2 separate regions of the Homo sapiens genome follow, and region 1 is linked to region 2. The links are contacts of gene promoters, found by promoter capture Hi-C in human tissues and cell types (Jung and others, 2019). All regions are on one chromosome and are shown on one strand. The core of a region is centred on a gene start or on the middle of the fragment in contact, and the rest is flanking DNA. Distances in the headings are between cores, read along the strand shown. Region 1 has its middle 7.3 kb from the start of BRD3OS. Region 2 holds the start of ADAMTSL2 (ADAMTS like 2).

Evidence for each region. The method cuts DNA at HindIII sites, captures the fragments that hold promoters and counts their contacts. A contact is called where the count stands out against the background at its distance.
Region 1: a fragment that was not itself captured here is called in contact with the fragment with the promoter of ADAMTSL2 in region 2 in 2 of the 25 tissues and cell types used here (lymphoblastoid cells and mesenchymal stem cells).

Annotation. Positions count from the first base shown.
Region 1 is chr9:134,016,466-134,019,864 of GRCh38, forward strand. No RefSeq gene overlaps it. Among named protein-coding and RNA genes, the nearest start is that of BRD3OS, 7.3 kb to the right of the region's middle. The HindIII fragment of the contact is 3,150 bases long and covers 1-2,961 here.
Region 2 is chr9:133,533,332-133,536,904 of GRCh38, forward strand. ADAMTSL2 (ADAMTS like 2) reads left to right here and starts at 1,373. Exons shown (of 19, transcript NM_014694.4): 1 at 1,373-1,586; 2 at 3,232-3,471. The coding sequence starts at 3,382. RefSeq lists enhancers at 238-779, 780-1,319, 1,320-1,861, 2,402-2,943, 3,484-3,573. The HindIII fragment of the contact is 7,890 bases long and covers 1-3,573 here.

The DNA of each region.
Region 1 (3,399 bases), core at 137-2,636, 480 kb after region 2:
GCTAACTTTTTATATTTAGTAGAAACAGGGTTTCACCATGTTGGTCAGGCTGGTCTCAAACTGCCGACCTCAGGTGATCTGCCTGCCTTGGCCTCCCAAAGTACTGGGATTACAGGCGTGAGCCACCACGCCTGGCCTGTAAATGGTATCTTTTAAACACTTGTTTTCTGCTTTTTGCTGTCATTTAGAACAGTAGTTGACTCTGTAGATTAATTTTCCATCAAGCAACCTTGTGTCAACCTTGTTGATGGAAAAAAAAAAAGCTGTGAAATATTTAAAGAAGTTTATTCTGAGCCAATGAGTGACCATGGTCCAGAAAACAGTCTCAAGAGGTCTGGAGAAAGTGCAGTCGAGGTGGTTGGGTTACAGTTTGGTTTTATACATTTTAGAGAGACAGGATATATAGGTAAAATTATAAATCAATACATGGAAGTTTACATTGGTTCAGCCTAAAGAGGTGGGAGGTCTTGAAGCTGAGGGGGGCTTACAGATCATAAGCAGATTCAAAGAATTTCTGATTGACAACTGGTTGAAAGAGTTAAGCTTTGTCTAAAGACTTGAAGTCAGTAGAAAGAAATGCTTGAGTTGGCTGGGTGTGGTGGCTCAAGTCTATAATCCCAGCACTTTGTGAGGTGGAGGTGGGCGATCACCTGAGGTCAGGAGTTCGAGACCAGCCTTGCCAACATGGTGAAACCCCATCTCTACTAAAAATACAAAAATATGCTGGGCATGGTGGCACACGCCTGTGATCCCAGCTACTTGGGAGGCTGAGGCAGGACAATAGCTTGAACCCGGGAGGCAGAGGTTGCAGTGAGCCGAAATCACGCTACTGCACTCCAGCCTGAGCAACAGAGTGAAACTCTATCTCAAAAAAAAAAAAAAAAAAAAAATGCTTGAGTTAAGATAAGGGGATTATGGACACCGAGGTTCTTATTATGTAGATGAAGCCTCCAAGTAGCAGCCTTAGAGATAATAGAGGGTGAATGTCTCTTCTCAGACCCTAAAGGTGTTAGACCAAGCTTGTCCAACCTGTGGTCCATGGGTCACAAGAGGCCCAGCACAGCTTTGAATGTGGCCCAACACAAATTCACAAATTTTCTTAAAATATAATGAGATTTTTTTGTGATTTTTTTTAAGCTCATCAGCTATTGTTAGTGTTAGTGTATTTTATGCATGGCCCAAGATAATTCTTCTTCTTCCAACGTGGCCTAGGGATTCCACAAGATAGGACCCCCCTGGCCGGGCGTGGTGGCTCACGCCTGCAATCCCAGCACTTTGGGAGGCCGAGGCGGGCAGATCACAAAGTCAGGAGATCGAGACCATCCTGGCTAACACAGTGAAACCCCGTCTCTACTAAAAATACAAAAAATTAGCCGGGCATGGTGGTGGGCGCCTGCAGTCCCAGCTACTTGGGAGGCTGAGGCAGGAGAATGGCGTGAACCCAGGAGGCAGAGTTTGCAGTGAGCAGAGATCACGTCACTGCACTCCAGCCTGGGCGACAGAGACTCTGTCTCAAAAAAAAAAAAAAAAAAAAGATCAGACCCACCTGTATTAGACTCTCATTTAATTTCTCCTAAATCCGGGAAACGCCTAGAAAGGAAAGGCCAGGCTCCTAATAGAGATTCTTTACAGATGCAAATTTCCCCCACAGAAGACGGCTTTGCAGGGCCATTCCAAAATATGTCAAAGAAATGTATTTGGGGGCTGGGCACGGTGGCTCATGTCTGTAACCCCAGCACTTTGGGAGGCCGAAGCCAGTGGATCACCTGAAGTCAGGAGTTCGAGATCAGCCTGACCAATATGGTGAAACCCCGTCTGTACTAAAAATACAAAAATTAGCTGGGCGTGGTGGCGGGCGCCTGTAATCCCAGCTACTCAGGAGGCTGAGGCAGGGGAACTGCTTGAACCTGGTGGTGGAGATTGCAGTGAGCCAAGATCGTGGCACTGCACTCCAGCCTGGGCGACAGAGCGAGACTCCATCTCAAAAAAATAAAGAAATATATTTTGAGGTAAAATATTTTCCTTTCCTTCAGGGTCTGCTATCTGTCATGTGGTGCTATACAAGGGTCTGGTTGGAATTTGGTATCTTGTTGCCATAAAGAGTCTGTTTTGGCAGGGCGCGGGGGCTCACGCCTGTAATCCCAGTACTTTGGGAGGCCAAGGCAGGTGGATCACGAGGTCAAGAGATCGAGACCATCCTGGCCAACATGTTGAAACCCCATCTCTAGTAAAAATACAAAAATTATCTGGGCATGGTGGCGCACGCCTGTAGTCCCAGCTACTCGGGAGGCTGAGGCAGAAGAATCGCTTGAACCCAGGAGGCAGAGGTTGCAGTGAGCTGAGATCACGCCACTGCACTCCAGCCTGGCAACAGAGACTCTGTCTCAAAAAAAAAAAAAAAGTCTGTTTTGTCAGTCTCACGACCTCTATTTTAATGATGCTGGCCAGTGGTGCCTAAACTCCAAAAGGGAGAGGGGAGAACGAGACATGTCCAGCCTCCCTTCTTGTCATGGCCAGGAATGCTGTTTTTCAGGTTTCTCTGGGGTCCCCTTAGCCAAGAAGGGGTCTGTTCAGTCCACCAGGGGCTTAGGATTTTTATTTATTTATTTATTTTTTTAAAGCTTTTTTTTTTTTTTTTTTTTGAGACGGAGTTTCACTCGTCTCCCAGGCTGGAGTGCAATGGTGTGATCTCGGCTCATTGCAACCTCCACCTCCCGGGTTCAAGCAATTCTCCTGTCCCAGCCTCCCAAGTAGCTGGGATTACAGGTGCCCGCCACCACACCCAGCTAATTTTTGTATTTTTAGTAGAGACAGGGTTTCATCATATTGGTCAGGCTGGTCTCAAACTCCTGACCTCAGGTGACCTGCCCACCTTGGCCTCCCAAAGTACTGAGATTACAGGCGTGAGCCACCGTGCCTGGCCCTTAAAACTTTTTTGAGATAGGGTCTCACTCTGTCGCCAAGGCTGGAGTACAGTGGTGCAACCACAGCTCACTGCAGCCTTGACCTCTCGGGCTCAAGCATTGCTCCCACTTTAGCCTCCCAAGTAACTGGGACTTCAGGTACACACCATCATGCCTGGCTAATTTTTTGTATTTTTATTTAAAAAGGGGTTTTACCATGCTGCCCAGGCTGATCTTGAACTCCTGGGCTCAAGCAATCCACCCGCCTTGGCCTCCCAAAATGTTGGGATTACAGGCATGAGCCAACATGGCTGGCCAGGATTTTATTTTTGGTTTGCAACCTAAAAGGAAGAAGCTGAGGAAAAATTAATGTAAGTAGAGAGTTTATTTGGGCCAAGCTTGAGGGCTGCAACCCGGAGCATGCAAGTTGCCCTGAACATCCACTCCAGTTAGTAGCGGTTACTAGAGGATTTTTAAAGGAAAAGAAGGGGAGTTC
Region 2 (3,573 bases), core at 123-2,622:
TCCCAGTTGCCCCAGCAGGAGAATGAGATGAATAAGACTTGCCTGCCCGAGGGTCCCGGGGAGAGAAACTTAAACAACCCGGCAGAGGAGAGAACCCGACACTCAGGAGCGCTGGCATCCCAGCCTTGCCTACTGGAGAGGTGACTTGGTCCCCGAACCTCAGTTCTTCCACCTGTGAAATGCAGATCATAAAGGTGGATCTGGCCTCACAGCTCTGGGCCCGTAGGACAAGCTGGACAGAGGGCAGACGGTATTATCGCTTTCACTACTATTACTGGTGGCTTTCCTTCCCAGCCTTTCTGGTGGGTGGTCAGACACAGGGCAGAACTTTCTCATGAAGGCAGCTGAAGGAACTCACAAGTTTCTTCCAGCAGGGAGGACAGAGGGAAGGAGAAGTGTCTTCCCGGCACTGCTGTGGGCCCAGGACATCTGCTGCATGGAGGCAGGGGCATGGATGAAAAGACACAGATGACCTGATGGAATGGTGCCCCAGCTTCCTCCTCCTCCCCTTTTTGGAGGTGCCTCTGTTTGCCGAGGATGGGCTCTGGGGAAGCTGGTGTGCAGAGGCTAGGTGCCCAGCCTTGCTTTAGGAAAGCCTCACAAAGTCTGGGGCCCGCCGGGAGTTTCCCAGGGGGGCTCTGCTGCTCCACCCACTCTCGCTCCCCTCTGTGCCCTGACTCAGCAGGAACAGAGGCTTGAGCTCCAGGCCTGGCCTGCCAGGGGCTGCCAAGTTGGTGCTGGACATCTGCAGAATCCCTGAGCCTCTCTGCCCTGGCCCTGGCTGCTCTAGCCATCTGGTCAGCAGGCCACGGGCACATCTGTCTCCTCCCTGGAGCCCTTGGTTCATTCTCGCTGGGTCTCCCTGCGTCCCTCCACCTGCTTAGGCCCCTGCATCTCGGGAGCTTTCTGAGGCTCGTGACCTGGGGCACGGTCGTCCCGGAAGTTCAGCCTTTCCCTCCGTACAACGGAGCCATCAGACGGGACACCTCATACATCCCAGACCCCATTCTCAGGAGCCCCAGGGACAGGGCCCGCTCTGGAGGCAGAAGCCGGACAGGCGGGGCTGGGGCTTTGCCACCGCCAGCCTCCCCGGTAACCTCAGGCCAGCGGCTGCTCCGTCTGGACACCCGACATGTGGCCCCCAGTTCTGGACCCGGGAAGAAGGCCTCCCTGCTCGCCGCTCCTGGGCCGCCGCCGCCGGCAGCAGCCAACAGGCAGCTGGGCCGGCCTGGCCGGGCTCCAGAGGCGCAGAGCGGGTTAAAGTGTGCGCCAGGCCGGCCGGCGCGGGCGGGGGAGCGGCCTGGTGGGAAGTGTGAGTGTTCCTCCCCGTCTGCCTGACAGCTATAAAGGCGGCCGCCGGCGCAGAGCCGCCACTGGGCTGCGCCCCTCCCGGGAACCCCCTCTCTTGGATGCTCTTTGAAGTGGGAGAGGGAGGCGGCGCGGGGGAGGAGGGGAAGGGGAGAGGGAGGCCGGGCCGCAGCCTCTGCACTCACGCCGCCCCCGCACGCACAGCGCACCTGGCGCCGTCTGCCCTCCGCAGCGCTCGCCCCTTTCTCTGGGAGGACAACCTGCTGACCCGAAGCCAGGTAGGCCACCTCGTCCCCGTCCCCCTCACGTTGCAGCGTCCACCAGGCCAGCCCACTGCTCAGAGTGGGGCTGGGGGTAGGAGCACCCCGCGCCCTCTGGAGCCGTTACATAACGTGGGGAGGCTTGTGGGGAGGGGTCGGGCCGCAGAGCACGGGGCAGGGTGGCCTCCCAGCACCTAGCCTTGTGCGCCCGGAGCTCTGTGTGCACGGCAGACCTCTCTGCTGCCGCCAGCCGCTGCTTTTGGACCCCAGGGAGGGATGGATCCCCGTGAGCGAGGCCTGGCCAGAAGCCAGTGGTGTCTGGAAGCCTTAATGAAAAAAGCAAGTGTGAGGCCGGCTGGCACCTGTCTTCAGCCGGCAGGCAGAGGCTGGGGCACCCGTTAGCCAATGGCACAGTGGAGGGGGCTCCTGTGGGTGTGAGGCTGAGAGTGCAGATGGAGGTCTGCAGGGGAGGGAGGTGGGGGGCAGGCGGCGGGGGCAGGGGAGGTCAGACTCAGGCTCCCCACTCCAGGGTGCACTGCTGCGTCGTCCGGGCTGCAGTGGTGTCCTTGGAGTGGCCCCTGAAAATCTGCAGGTGCCGGGCCTGCAAGGAAACTCTTCAAGTTGGATGGAGGCTGCTGAGGAGGGAGGGGCAGAGCCCGAGTTGGCCTCTGGCCTGGCAGGGGTGAGGGGTGACCTCCATGCCTTCTTCCCCTGGAATTGGCCAGGCGTGGGGGTCGAGTCCCTGAGTTTGCTAGTGTGCTACCTTGCTGTGTGGCTTTGAGCAGGTTGGCTCCCCTCTCTGGGCTCCAGGTTATGAGTGCAGGCTGCGTGGTTTCTGAAATCCCTTCTCTAACTCGCTGGCAAGTGACCCTCAGCACCTGAGCAAGGCCTGGACAGAGGTCATGGTGGATCTCTGGTCTTCCCTTCCACAGGGCAGGGTCGACGCTGAGGAGGGGGTGGGGAGAGCTGAGGGCCTGGAGGCTGGACAGTCCCTTCCAATGGGCTTGCTTTGACCCCTGGCAGGTGTTTTGAGCCAAGGGTGCTGGCTGTTGGGAGGAAGTCAGCCTTGTGGCCCTGGACTGCTGACATGCTGGCACAAACTGCACCTCCTCCTGCCCTGCCCCTCCCCCAATTCCATCTTCTCTCCGGGGATCGGGAGGCGGCATAGGTACCTGGGTTCTGCCTCACCTGAGTGCCGGCTGTTGCTGGATGCTGACTGTGGAGCTGCTGGTCTAGGGCGAGGCTGCACATTCCCCCGGGACCTGGCCAAGCCCATCCCCATGCACTGACCCTAGCAGCCAGTGGCAGAGGCCATTCTCCTGCGAGGCCAGCAAGAGCTGAGCCAGTTAAAATCCCAAGGTGCTCCTGCCAAGGCGCTGGACTGAGCCCAGGCCCATCCCTTCGAACCAGAGCCTTTCCCCCCGCCTGGGTCCCCAGCCCCCTCAGCCGAGGCTGGCTGTCTCCACAGCCCTTCTCTAGGGGGCTTGAGGACTTGGAGGCAAAGCATGGCATGCTTCCCTGCATGCCCTTGGATCAAGGGTGGCACAGGCTTAGCACGCACACCGCCGCTGGGTGTCTTGCCTGAAGCAGGCATTACTAATCATTCACCAAGCTCCTTCTTGCTAAGCCTAGACTGAGGCGGGGGGTTCATCCTTCCCAACAGGGTCTGCCAGACAACCACGACCAACTAGTCCCAGATAACCTTGAGGCCTGGGCACTGGCTGGGCCCCGAGGGCTCTTCCCAAAGCGTACCCTGGTCATCTGGAAGAGGATCGGAGCTGGCCTGGTGGTGACAGTGGCCTTGCTTCCTAGGATGGATGGCAGATGGCAATGTTCCTGCTGGGCCTGGTTCCTGCTGGTTCTGGCAGTTGTAGCTGGGGACACAGTGTCAACCGGGTCCACGGTGAGTGGGGTGTTGTGGTCTGAGGGCCCATGCCAGTCCCCTACCCAGGTGCTGTGATCACTCTCAGATGGACTGGCTTGGAGGGAGCCGTGTGGGCACGTG